Linked DNA regions of Homo sapiens: regions 1, 2 and 4 are each linked to region 3. Evidence: promoter capture Hi-C in 16 types of primary human blood cells and fetal thymus (Javierre and others, 2016). All regions are on one chromosome and are shown on one strand. Each heading gives the region's core, a stretch centred on a gene start or on the middle of the fragment in contact. The rest is flanking DNA. Distances are from core to core; before and after follow the strand shown. Region 1 overlaps RMND5A (required for meiotic nuclear division 5 homolog A). Region 2 overlaps KDM3A (lysine demethylase 3A). Region 3 holds the start of RNF103 (ring finger protein 103). Region 4 overlaps RMND5A (required for meiotic nuclear division 5 homolog A).

Evidence for each region. The method cuts DNA at HindIII sites, captures the fragments that hold promoters and counts their contacts. A CHiCAGO score of 5 or more calls a contact.
Region 1: a contact is called between a fragment that was not itself captured here and the fragment with the promoter of RNF103 in region 3, in 1 of 17 cell types (erythroblasts). The highest score is 5.2, in erythroblasts.
Region 2: a fragment that was not itself captured here is called in contact with the fragment with the promoter of RNF103 in region 3 in 2 of 17 cell types (neutrophils and naive CD8 T cells); the score reaches 7.5 in neutrophils.
Region 4: a contact is called between a fragment that was not itself captured here and the fragment with the promoter of RNF103 in region 3, in 2 of 17 cell types (M1 macrophages and M2 macrophages). The highest score is 8.0, in M1 macrophages.

The regions. Positions count from the first base shown.
Region 1 is chr2:86,776,782-86,780,130 of GRCh38, forward strand. RMND5A (required for meiotic nuclear division 5 homolog A) reads left to right here. Exons shown (of 9, transcript NM_022780.4): 9 at 1-1,260. Among named protein-coding and RNA genes, the nearest start is that of CD8A, 12 kb to the right of the region's middle. The HindIII fragment of the contact is 2,601 bases long and covers 206-2,806 here.
Region 2 is chr2:86,459,698-86,462,869 of GRCh38, forward strand. All of the region lies in intron 8 of KDM3A (lysine demethylase 3A), which reads left to right. Among named protein-coding and RNA genes, the nearest start is that of KDM3A, 20 kb to the left of the region's middle. The HindIII fragment of the contact is 5,511 bases long and covers 1-3,172 here.
Region 3 is chr2:86,621,962-86,625,368 of GRCh38, forward strand. RNF103 (ring finger protein 103) reads right to left here and starts at 1,904. Exons shown (of 4, transcript NM_005667.4): 1 at 700-1,904. The coding sequence starts at 925. All of the region lies in intron 2 of RNF103-CHMP3 (RNF103-CHMP3 readthrough), which reads right to left. RefSeq lists silencers at 725-774, 955-1,034, 1,305-1,844, 1,925-2,094 and an enhancer at 1,805-2,099. The HindIII fragment of the contact is 8,880 bases long and covers 912-3,407 here.
Region 4 is chr2:86,758,312-86,761,585 of GRCh38, forward strand. All of the region lies in intron 4 of RMND5A (required for meiotic nuclear division 5 homolog A), which reads left to right. Among named protein-coding and RNA genes, the nearest start is that of CD8A, 31 kb to the right of the region's middle. The HindIII fragment of the contact is 3,704 bases long and covers 1-3,274 here.

The DNA.
Region 1 (3,349 bases), core at 256-2,755, 150 kb after region 3:
TCACTAGGATGTATAAGGTGACGACACAAACCAAATACCTTTCTTTCATCACTTAACTATACGTACTTTATCTCTGGTAACACTAGAATGCTGTGGTCTTGAGGGAATGTTAGCAAGGAACACATAGAAGATTTGGTGTTTCATAAGCCTGTCTAGGTGTGGCAGGTTTTGTGTGGTACACTGATGTTTACCATAAGCAGGTACAAGCTTCATGAACCGTTCTTAATGAACTATAATTGAATAGATACCAAAAATAGAATGACAAATGTATTTTAATAGCAGATGAGGCAGTTTTAGGATGAATTTTCCACTGTTGATTTTACTTCAAGACATAGCAAGAGAAACAAAATTTTGTTTTCAAGACATTTCCACTGCAGTTTCAAGCTGTAGTGGGCATATGCTTCATTTACTTCCAAAGAGGCAAAAGCAGCTGGAATTGGCTTACAGCACATGCTTTGTTTCATGTTATGGGTGAGGACCTACATACACTCTTACTTTAGCAGTCACTTAACCTTCTCCAGCAAGGCAGTTGTGGGGTTCACTAGGATTTAGTGCCTGATCTTTTTTTTGGGAAGGGGCGGGAATGAATGTGTTGGGGCTGGGAGGGAAGCAGAAGAAAATGGGAGTGTGAGTGAGTGTGCATGTGTCTGAAGTTCACCATTGCCCCCACCTGCACCTAGCAAGGAACAGGTGTTTGATGTATTTTGCTCATGACTGCAGTATGCATGTATTTTTTTCCTTCTCTGTGTTTTCTAAACTTACACTAAAGGATTCATCAAATCATCTTGTTCAGATGGCTCAGGATTGTATTTATTTTGCTTACCCCGTGCTCTTGGGTTCTATAGTATTTCTATAATTATGTAACGAGAATAGTGTTGCACTGTAATCTATCATATAGAGCTATATGTATGGAAAATTTTGATCAATTTTTTAAGAAATGTATCCTGTTTGCAAAGGCACAGTAAAGTTGCATCTTATAGACTATAGGCAATAAAGCTAACAATAAACCTTATTTAACACAAACCACATCCATATCCTCTGTTCATTTGATTTTGGAAAAAGTAGCATATCCAGTAGTTTCAGGGAATTCATTTTAACTTTAAGAATTCTGATATATTTAATTTATAAATTTCGGACTGATATAATAGAGTTTTGGAAAACTATAAGAAATGCTTTGTTAATGTGTGTATTCCTATGTAAAACACATGGCTTTTCCTGTGTATATTTTTAAAAATTAAAGAAATGCACATTTAAAAAGTGTTTTGTGGAACCAGTCTGTATAAATGTGCCAGGTGACAAAGGTATGAGGGAGGGAGTAGGGAGGTGCTGACTGTGAGAAGAGAAAATTGCTGTCTGTATTTGCTAAGGGTCTGCATGTCAAGAATTTAAGAAAATATCTGTCCCCATCTTACTGTGTTTCTGTGCCACCAACAGTGAGAAGAGAAGGTGACTGAGCAGTGTCCCGAGTTGTTTTTTGTTGTTGTTTTGAGACAGACTCTCACTCTGTTGCCTGGGCTGGAGTGCAGTAGCCCAATCTCGGCTCACTGCAACCTCCACCTCCTGGGTCCAAGCGATTCTCGTGCCTCAGCCTCCCGGGTAGCTGGGATTACAGGCATGTGCCACCATGCCCAGCTAATTTTTTTTTATTTTTAGTAGACAGTGTTTCACCATGTTGGCCAGGCTGGTCTCGAACTCCTGACCCTCAAGTGATCTGCCCACCTCAGCCTCCCAAAGTGCTGGGATTACAGGCGTGAGCCACTGCACCTGGCTGAGTCCCGAGTTTCTGAGTAGGGGATTGTTTTAATGTTTCCAGGCTGCTGCCCCCTCTCGCCCCTCCTGTGCACAGCGGGGACCCTGCCCTGTGTACTGACCAGAGTGGCAGTGAGTGTATGATTGGTAAAGTGGAGCCCGGAAACAGCTCGATGTCCAGGCTGCTGGAGGGGGTAGAACTTGTGCTGTCAGCATTACCAGGGAAGACCAGAAACTGAATTGCCTTGTCCTCCATGGCAGGCCAAGGTTGTAGAGACCAAGCACTTATTTGTACTCCTTTTGTATATTTTTTAAGAGAAAGACTTAGTGTTACCTGAGATTTTAGAATGTTTCTTACCTATGGAAACCCTTGTGGTCCCATCCAGTCAGGTTGGAGCTAGTGGCCCAGGTAGTATAGAAGAGGCCTGGCAGGCCAGGCCAAGGTCTCACCACCTTTCCCTCCAGCATTTGGGCTCCTCAGGACTCAAAGTGTGGTCCATGGACCAGCAGCATCAGCATCACCTGGGAGCCTGTGAGAAATGCAGAATCTCAGGCCTCAGCTCAACCCTGCTGAACCAAAGTCTGCATGGTCATGAGAAAACGGGCTTCCCTTATAAGGAGTGTCCTGGATGCTTCCTATTTCAGGAAGTATCCTCCCTCTTAAATGTGGCAGGTCAAGATCACACGTACTGAACAGAATTTACCCTTGAGGACTAAGGGTAAATCTGTTAGTCATCAAGAAAATTTAAATTTAGTGTGCTTTGAACTCTAGTTATTTTAAAAATCAGTGTATTTCTTTAAGCATCTAGGTAATTGAGGGAGTACTGTATTTGCAGTATGGTAAAAAGCATTTTCCACCCCCTCCACCAAAATGGGGAAGGTGAGTGTCAAAGATGAAAAATAATTTTCATAATGACAAAATAAGGACTAAAAATGCATCCTTAAACAAAACAGCTTGATGCTTCTTACCCCCCAGCAGAGAAACTTGATAATAAACAATATCCCAGCAGAAAATAGGCTTTCTTAACTTTTCTTTTTCCTTCAGCACCCAGTAAGAAGCTTAATAGCATAACCCTGTGTACACAAAATTTAGAATTCTGAAATATTTTACAAAACAATATTTAGTGCTACAAATGTGTGATTTTATTTTTAATGCTCACCAAGACTGATTTGATTTTGTGACCTGCTAATGAGCCAGTTTTTACAACCTTGCATGACGGGACAATGATGCAGTGGTCCACTTACCTACCAAACTTCTTTGAAATCTGTCAATATATCTGTGATAGAAAGTACTTAAAAAAAAAAAACACTTTCCTTGTAGGGTGTTTCATACCCTTGTGTGAGCCTCCTATGCTAGCAAATGTGGCGATACATTCAATGTTAGAAGGCTTGTATAATCCAGAGCTACTAATTACTGAGCTCTCCTGTGTGCCAGGCAATGTTGCATTTACTTAGCTATACTTCCTTTCAGCTTAGAAAAGTACAAAGTGCTTCATGCTAAACATTGGCACGTAAAGTAGAATCCTTTAATAAAAAGACGTGTAGTTTAACATGTTGTAGTATGACATCTTAGCAGTCACTCATCTAACAGATTTTTTAA
Region 2 (3,172 bases), core at 115-2,614, 160 kb before region 3:
TGTGGGCATATAGACATATATGATATGATCCTGTCTCCTTGATTCAAATTCTTGCAAGGCCAGAAGCATTACTTTTTTATCTTTCTCAGCATGTTGCCCATACTATGTGTGCTATTGAGCTGATTGTTGGGCACATTAGAAGCTATTAAAAAAATAAGCCTGCACTTCAGCCTGGAGATAAGTTTCTTAACTTCTGCATCTAATATGATAAACTAAATTAAGTGTTTTAAAAATGTACATTGCAGCTCTTGAGCTCTATGCTAGTCACGTCATTCTAAAGGAAGTCGAAGGTGGATTTTTACCTGGGTTTCAGAAGTTCTTGAAAATATTTTTTTGATTGTGAAGCTCATCTCATTTGAAAATTTTTGGTTAACCTAGAAAAGTATAGTAAAGAATAGAATCATCACTTGTAATCATACTTCTCAGAGACTCTCTGTTTACATTTTGAAATACTTCAAATGTAATGTAAGGAAATACTTTCCTTCTGTCTCTTCTCCCCCTGTATTTATCACAGAGACCTGATTTTTTTTGTTAGTTTTTTAAAACTAAAAACCATACTCTTGTAGCCTCCTTGATTCCCTTGCAATGTATTATAACTATTATTCCATATCGGTAAATGTCTTTCGTTCTGGGTGATTCTTGTAGTCAGACAAGTTTTGGATACACTGGCCTGGCCTAGATTTCAGGAGGGCTGGAGAGATAAAGGGAGCAGTGGGGAAAGAAAGTTTTTGAAAATGTATGAGTGAAAGGTGAGTACAGTAATGCACTCAGCACGATTCTCACTGTGTTTGCACTTCCCAGATGTGTTGGACTGGCACTTTTAGGGTGGTCTTTAGAAGACAGGCATTTGGGACTAGTAGGCAAGACTCTTGACTGTCTTGATGAATACTTTTGGTTAAGATAAACCTGTTTGCCAGTGATACCTGGCTCCTTGAAGGTCTTCTCTGCCTAGCAGACTATTCCTCAGAGTTACGACGTTGCCTGGTTAGTTGGGAAAGAGTCTGCTGAGGAATGTGAGCCGGCAGTGTCCTTTTTAGAATTCTATCATACACTCAATTATATTATCTCCGTCTGCTGGCAGGGAGGAACTATTGCCATGACTGGTATAGAAGACCTTCAGGGAAAACTCTTCAGGTAAGAAGAAACTTTGACCCTTTGTTGAGTCAGAGGCCAGTGCGGAGGTGCACTCGTGAACATGGGTTTGGGAATTGGAGTCCTGTTCCTGTTGAGCTAAACCTTAGGAAAGTTGTAGAAGGAAATACTTGAGTTTCTTAAAGGAAAAGCACGCTAAGTTGTGCTAATTCTAACACACGGTGACAGAATTGAGAAAATTTTCGCAATGTTTTTCTGCTTTAAGACAGCTCATCTCTAAAATTGATTTCAGCGCCAGGCACTATGGTAAAAGCACAGCCCTGTAAAGTATACTTCATGGGAAGAAAGTGCTAGGAAGTGTTAGAGACTGAATTTCAAACCAAAGGCTAACACCAAAATCCAGTACTCTTCATCACTGTGCTGTTGCCACTGCTCTCCAAATCTTCTCCTTGGTGTGGTGAATCACCCTTGTAAAAATAGCAGATTTCTCCTTTCTTCCCTCCTTCCCTCTGTTCCTCCATCCCTCCTTCCAACAAGTATTTATTGCATATTTAGTGTATGCTAGACTGATCTACAGTGGTGATCATCACTTCCTGTCACTTCAGGTAACTCATAAGACTTATTGATTTATAGCTATTTAGAAATGTTACATGCTAACAGCATTCACTCCTTGGTATGTTCATTCCACCAGTCTTATTTATTGAGCATCCACTGTATGTTTGGTTTTATGAGGTTATAACAGTGGGCGCAACAGCAGGGCCTCTGCCCATAAACAGTGTGTGTCCCATTGTGAGGAGACTGACAGTGAATAAGTGAAAGGTACTTTCATGGTGTGATAAGGGCTATGAAAGGTATAAACAGAAAAATGATAAAGAGTAAGGGACGGCTTTTGGGATGCTACTTCAGAAAGAGTAATCAGAAATTCTGAGAGTGTGACATATTAACAGACTTGAGGGTGAACAGAGAGAACCAACCAGCCACTGAAAACGATGTAGCCAGAGAGATAACAAGTACAAAGGCCCAGGCAAGAAAGGGCTTAGAACACTAGGAGATGAGAAAGGAAGCAAGTGTAGTTGGAGTACTGTGAGCAAGCGGGGCAGTGAAAGAGATGGGGGGAGGAGGAGCAGGAGTGGTAAGGAGACTGGACCACATGGGATTCTTGTAGGCAGTGGACTGCCGTGATCTTATTTGATTTATGTTTTATAGAGATTGCTCTGTGGTAGAAGAGATCTTGGGTAGGATGCAGAGGATTCAACAAGAATGGAAGGAAGGTTGGTTAGGACATGTGTAGCTTAGGGGAAAGATGGTAGTAGTAGTGACATGAAAAGAAATGGGTAGATTCAATACATACTTTGCAAATAGAGGCAAGATTTATTGGTTTATTGATTACATATGGGAAATTAGATGGAGGGTTTTTTTTTTTAACTTGAGCGGCTTGATTTTATACAGAGTAAAAATTTATGCTTAGGTTTATAATCCAAATTTCTTAAGTATGTTGCTCTTGGGAGAGTGAGGAAAGGTATTAGTGCATCAATTCTAAACATATTCAGAATAAGGAAGGTGACCAATATGAGGAAAGATAATTGGTAAAATTGAGCCTTGAATAAGCATTTCAAAATGATTTAGCATTAAACTTTGGGAGACTAACCTCAGATTAACAGGGAATTGCAAACTATTACAAGCAAAAGGGACTTTAGGAATAAACAAATTTCCTCATTTAAAGGATTAGGAAACTCAAAAAACACCCAAAACCAACCATCACACCTTCTGGAGAACATTAAGGTACTATTTAACCAAAATTGAGTTGACTGAAATAGTGTAATATATGATCAGATAATTTAGTGCCTAAAAATAGTTGAAACTATGCCAAAACTTTGCCAGTGATTAAATTCTTATTTTTCAGATATATCTGTATATGCTAGCTAGTCTTTTCAAGGCTGTCAAGTAAATTTCTGAGAAAAGCATTCATGAGTAGAGTACATATAAATATATTCGAAATTGTCAGGTTTTAAAAACCTGCTGGCCAGGCACAGTGGCTCATGCCTGTAATCCCAGCACTTTAGGAGGCCAAGGCAGGCAG
Region 3 (3,407 bases), core at 654-3,153:
CATTAAACAATGCAAGGGTACCTGTGACACAGAAGACAAAAAAAATTTTTCTTTTACACATCCAAGATGCAAATTTTTAAAAATCCTAACAGAAATATAATATAAACTCGAACATGGCAGGCATTTATACAAAATGCTCGCCTTATTTTCACCAAACTTAAAGTCTGAAAAGCTAATACTGTACGGTGTATACTGTCTATATTCAAACTCATGATTTAACATTTAAATCCTAGGCCCAAGTGCCTCTGATAGTAAGTATTCCAAAGATGTGTCCCCACTCTGGGTATCTTATTATTACTATCGTGACAAATATTGCTATTGACAGACAACGTTTTGGAGTTTTTCTTACGTTTTTATGAACTTCAACTGACAAATAATGCTTTCCAGTTTGTAACTAGTTGATATTCCAGAATTTTGAGAAAATCACTCAACTTAGTAAACAACGCTAAGAAGCCACACTTTAAACTGTCATTTTACGATAACCTTAAAAGGATACACCAACACTCCTCCAAATAATTTCAGACTCCTCCTCAAAGCTGGGATCCGCATACTTGATTGTAGGAAGCTTGGACGAAGAAACCTGGGCAGCTTTAACGCTTCCAGGAAAGGCCTCACTCTGGGGGAACAGCCAGGTACCAGGAGGTACAGGTCGTCCCCTCTCCCAGGTGGAGGGGACCCTAGGGGAAGCCCGATACTCGCCTGACTTTTCCACCAGCTCCCGGACATCCTTCTTCTCGGGCAACCCTGAGTAGCCCAACCCCCGGCACTCCAAAATGGTCTTCAGCTTCTTGAAGCTCAGCGCCACCGGATCCACCAGCTGGGTGGCAAAGATGCCAGTTTCATACCACACAATGGCCTCAAAAAACCTGGCCAGGACGAACAGGACCAGGAAATAGAGGAGCAAGAAAAAAAGCTTCAGCCACATCTTCCCTGGAGTTTCCTCTCTTTCCAGAGAGCTCGGAATACGGGAGAGAGAAGGGTCGAGGGCGGGGGCCGCGGCTCGGTGGCAGCTTGGGCGAGGGCCCCGTGTCCACGCGCGGGCCACCCGGCGCCGTCACTGGCCGGCCATCCCCGGCGGGGAAGCAGGTGACGGGATCCGCGCGGGCGCGAGGCGGCGACGAGGGACGCAGAGACGCAGAGCCTCGCGCCGGGCCTCCCAGTCAAGAGCCGACAAAAATAAAGGGGAAAAACTCAAAACCCCCATCCATTAAGCACAGAAAGGAGAGGGGCGCGGGGAGAGCTCGCGGGGAAGAACAAAACGAGGGACGCTTCCCCCGGGGCGGGCACTGACCCAGGTGGCGGGGTCGGCCCTCCGGTGCCGCGATCTCAAGGGGGAGGGGGAGACCAAAAAATAACTCAGATCCGCCCAGGAGGCGGGGATCCGGGCGGCAGGCCGGGGCCCGAGGGGCCGTGGGGGCCGGACTCCCGCGGCCGCGGGTCAGGAGGGCGCGGCGCTCGGCCGGGCCAGGCCCGGGGCCCAGCGTGTTCTGCGCGGGGAGGAGCGGCCGCCGCAACGCCGCGCCCGAAGCCCAGGCCCCAGGCCCCGCCGACCGCCCAGGCTCCGCGAGAAGAGCGGCGGGCACGGCGGCGGCTCCAGGTTCGCTCGGGCCGGCTGGCGGGCGGCGCCTCTCAGGCGGGCGGGCACTGCGGCCCGGCCCAGGATGGGGCGTCGCGGTCTCTGCAGATGGAATCGGTCTCGGAGGGAAAAAACCAATAATAGGCCCCGAGACTGCTCCTCCAGGCGGCTACCCGGCTGCCTCCCGGCCACTCAGCGCCCGTCCCGCTCGGATGGGCAGTGCCGGTCGCAGCACCCGTCCCCAACACCCCCGCCACCTCCGGAGACCGCGGCCGTACCCTCCACAACCGTGTATCAGCGGCGGCCGCGGCCGGAGCCGAGACATAACAACTGACGTCGCGATGAGGCGGGGCCGGGGCGGGGCCTGCAGGGTGCGCCCGCAGGGGCCGAGGGCGGGGAATTCGGGGAGCCGCGGGGCTACCGGACTACCGAACGAGGGGCGGGAGGAGAGGCGGAGCCGCAGCGTGGTCGGGGCCTTCCCGCGGTGCCGAAAGTTGCCTCTCCGTGCTTTTGCGGCGTGGTCTCCCCTTTTGCCCCTCCAATGTTTAGCAATTGATTTTGTCTGAGGATTAGTCTTTAGATTGTATCACTTTGTGTATTTTTTGTAAAAATAGAGCAGTTAATTATTCTCTTAAAATCGGTGAAAATAGAAATGTACGTTTTTTGATGAATCCTGGTGAACAGGGAAATTTTTGGCACAGTTGGTTTGAGATGGTAGAAGGTTAAACCCAGAAAGCAAATGTTTTGCCCCCTCTTCATGAGAATGTGGCTTTGCACATGTGTGTTGGAGGAGGTTTGGCCAAAACTGGAGTTCGCGTTATACTAGGCCCAGTTGTCGCTGCCAGTTACAGCCTTTTCCCTCCTTCAGTCTCAAGGGTGTTAAAAGCCTGGTGTGGACTCCCTGAGTTCCTAGGACAAAGATTGTCGAGTGTAGATAAGTCCAGGTGCAAAGTTCCGGGTGCTTTATTTTGTACATGGGCCTGGCACAGTGGCTCACGCCTGTAATCCCAGCACTTTGGGAGGCCGAGGCGGGCAGATCACGAGGTCAGGAGTTCGAGACCATCCTGGTTAACACGGTGAAACCCTGCCTCTATTAAAAATACAAAAAATTAGGCCGGCGTGGTGGTGGGCCCCTGTAGTCCCAGCTACTCGGGAGGCTAAGGCAGGAGAATGGCGTGAACCCGGGAGGCGGAGCTTGTAGGGAGCTGAGATCGCGCCACTGCACTCCATCCAGCCTGGGTGACATAGCAAGACTCCGTCTCAAAAAAAAAAAAAAAAAAAAAAAAAAAAAAAGAAAGAAAGAAAAGAAAAAAAAGAGTCACATGGACAAGCATGCGATACCTGGTTCTGTGCTTATAAATTTAACCGGGCCGAGCGTACTCTTTACGTCAATCTCTGTGTCAGTCTTGAGGGAGGAAGGAGTTGGGTTCATAAACTGAACAAGGTTGGCTTTGACCAGCCCCTTTTGATAAGGAAGGAAAAAAAAAACAGTAATTACGGGGAAATGTTACTATTTGTGCAAAACTGTCAACTATCTGAAACTAGGGGTGAAAGTTTTAGGAAGAAAGGGATCATGATCCCAGGTCATGGAGCAAGGGAGGAACGGGAAGCAAAGAATGGACTGTGAGAATGTAGCCTCCGAATGGTGCCCATTTAAAATAAAGTGAACAAGGGCATTTCAGTGCCGGGCTAGTGGGGGAGGAGTTGGAAGGGGATGGGCCCAGGGAGCATTGAGAATCAGAGGAGGAGGTGTAGGAATGTCCAGCCAGCAACTGGACACTGCCCCTGTGTCTTTAGCTTCCATGTGGCTTTGTTCTCGTGGCTGGCAGAT
Region 4 (3,274 bases), core at 174-2,673, 140 kb after region 3:
TTTTTACTTGAAAAATTTTGAAGTATTTGCCTATATCAGAGCATATAGAACTATTTTTTTTTTTTGGTGGCTGCTTAGTGTTCTCTTTTAGGGATTATACCTTAATTTTATTTAGCCAGTTCCTATGGATGGACGTTTGTAGTTTCCGATATTTTGCTTTATAAGTGATGCAGCATTGAATATCCGTTGCACATTATTTTGAGCATGCCTGCTAGATATGTTGTCCAATATGGTGACCACTCCTATGTGTAGCTCTTACTAATCTCTGCATTACTGAGAACCTCATGTAAAAGGGTGTGTGTGTGTGTCTTAAATAGAGTCAGATATGCAATACCATAGTTTGTGTGGTTTCTTAAATAGCATGTGAAAAGGACAGAGACTCACACCAACTCTGAGATGAGTTTAATGGTAGTAGTTCCAGCAGTGGACTCAGCCCATAGCTGAAAAATTACCATTTGAAAATATCTAAGAAATGAAACACTGAGTGTTCTTTTCAGTCTCTAAAGCAAAGTTACAGAGTTCCTCACTTTTTTGACTGAACTTTTTGTCAGGTTTGCCATTCTCTGAATTTTTTTAAGCATTTGATTCATGTTACTAAGGACATTTCACCAGGTCCACACCTGTGGAGTAAAAATCAATGTCATTCATTCCCCTGAACTTCAGCTTTTACCCCCAAGAGTATAGCCTTAAAGGAAATTAGAAAAAGAGGTTTTTGTAAGCCTTTAAATGCTGTGAAAGGTTACAGTGGAATGTGCTGTGGGATTGGCAAGAGGCTTTTTTTCCCTAGTATTACTAGAAATAGACACCCACCCAGGCTGGCAAAATTGTAAGATTAGAGAGATAAGCCCACTAATGCTGTCTGTTAGGTTCCTGAGGGAGAACCGCTAACTATGAAGGTGAAATCTTGTATTTATTTTTGGAATGATGTAGAAATTCTAAATATGGAGGTAACTGTGTGCCAAGTCTTTTCACAGGCCTGACAATTAAGATAATTAATGCTAATGTTTCTGCTGGGTAATTGTATAGATGTGGATTGCTTCTAACTTAGTCTTCTCATAAGTAATATTGTTTTGGGGTTTGTTGGTGGAAAGGCCCCAAAAGGCTCTTCATCAGAAGAATGTAGTGGCAGAGATCAGTGTAACACTGTTGATCTTACTGTCATTTTTGGGGTTCAGTGTTTCTCTAAATGGAGTAATTCCAAAGGTGACAGTGTTCTCGTGGTCCACGCTGGAAATTTGGGATCAGAATTTTTTTAAAAAAATTATAGAGTTAATAATTTCACTGCATTTTTAGTTTGCTTGCCCCCCCGCCCCCCACCATCTCTACTAAAAATACAAAATTTGCCAGGCGCGGTGGTGAGCACCTGTAACCCCAGCTACTCGGGAGGCTGAGGCACAAGAATCACTTGAACCCGGGAGGCAGAGGTTGCAGTGAGCCGAGATCACGCCACTGTACTCCAGCCTGGGCAACAGAATGAGACTCTGTCTCAAAAACAAAAACGTGGGGAGGAAGGAAGGGGGAGGGGCAGGGGCAGGAATCATTTTAGTGAGAAATAGAAAACGAATTTCGTTTTCTTTGTAATTCTTTAAGATTTATGAGAATGGGCCACAGACACCCTGACTTGCTCAGGTTCTCAAACTTTATGTCTTTCCTCATTATATCAGTCTGGAACTTCTTTGTCTTTATAAAGTAACCTCTTACCACTGAGATCTCTGTGTCCTTTCTCTCCTGTTTGTATTCTTTTTTTTTTGAGACGGAGTTTCACTCTTGTTGCCCAGGCTGGAGTGCAATGGCGCAATCTTGGCTCACCACAACCTCTGCCTCCCGAGTTCAAGCGATTCTCCTGCCTCAGCCTCCTGAGTAGCTGGGATTACAGGCATGCGCCACCACACCCGACTAATTTTGTATTTTCAGTAGAGATGGGGTTTCTCCATGTTCATCAGGCTGGCCTCAAACTCCCAGCATCAGGTGGTCCACCCACCTCGGCCTCCCAAAGTGCTGGGATTACAGGCCTAAGCCACTGCACCCAGCCCTTGTATTCTTTATTGAACCTATGGGCAGTCTTTGCAGGTTTCTAACATACATAAATTCGTTTTTACCACAGTTTAGTTAAATAACACCTGGCTGCCAACAACACAGTTCAGATTTCAGTCACCATGATGTATTAACTGTGAGCAATTGTATAAAATACAGACTTCTCTGCCAGCTCTTCAGTCTACACATCTGGACATAACAGGAGCATCATGGTCATGACCAGTTTTGTCACTTCGCTCTTGATCACTGCACATCTACTGTCAGTTACTCTCAGGCAACAGCTGTGTGGGTTGTGTCACCTCTTTAACTCCCAGGGATAAACCCACGTGACATTTTACAAAAATGGATAATTGGAAGACGGACTTGGCAACAAGAAAAACCTCTAGAAGTGAAATTGAATGTGATTAGAAAGATTTGAAAAAGGACAACAGCAAGATGAAGCTAGGGCAAGACCTAAGCCTACAGGAAGCTAATGGTACAAAGCATATTGGAAAAGTCCTGTCACTATAAAGACGAGGGTAAAGTCACTTCACCATCTTTTCACTTATATTGCACTAGAATAGAAAGATGCTTGTGGTTTAGATGGAACATTTACTTCTACTTTGGATTGAGAGAGAGAAGTGTGTGTGTGTGTGTGTGTGTGTGTGTGTGTGTGTGTGAATCAGTTTGGCTACTATTCGGGCCAAATTGATAATAGTTGCCTTATTGAAAGAAGATGGTAATTACAAGGATATTGAAGAACTTCACAGCCAGTAAAAGATGCTTTTATCATGTTCAGAAGTTGTGAATTGACTAAAGCTATCTGAGGAAGCTGCTATTGTGAGTAAGGATGCTGCTGTGAAATTTGTACTCAGATGTCAAGGATTCATTAAGGCGGATGTTAACAATGATCATCACAGAAGGCAACTCTTGATACCAGAGCTTAGCAAGAGGCATAGAATAGTGAAGAATAGTGAATAGAGTTAAAAATAGATTGACTTTCTTATTAGGAGGCAGCTGCGGAGAGTGACTTTGAATAAAACCTATGCTTATTTGGCCAGTTAACTGTGGCCAGGGAATTGAGGTCAAGAAAATACAAATGTGGGTTTCTGGGTACAATCCTGGAGGTATAAGAGAGAGGTCCTATCATGTCAGGTGAGGATTTCACCTTAATTGCTTACATGTGCTTCAATGTTTGGGAGAGTTAAAAGTGGGGTATCTCATCCTTGGTTTAGAAAATGACATTTTGCCAGGGAGGGAG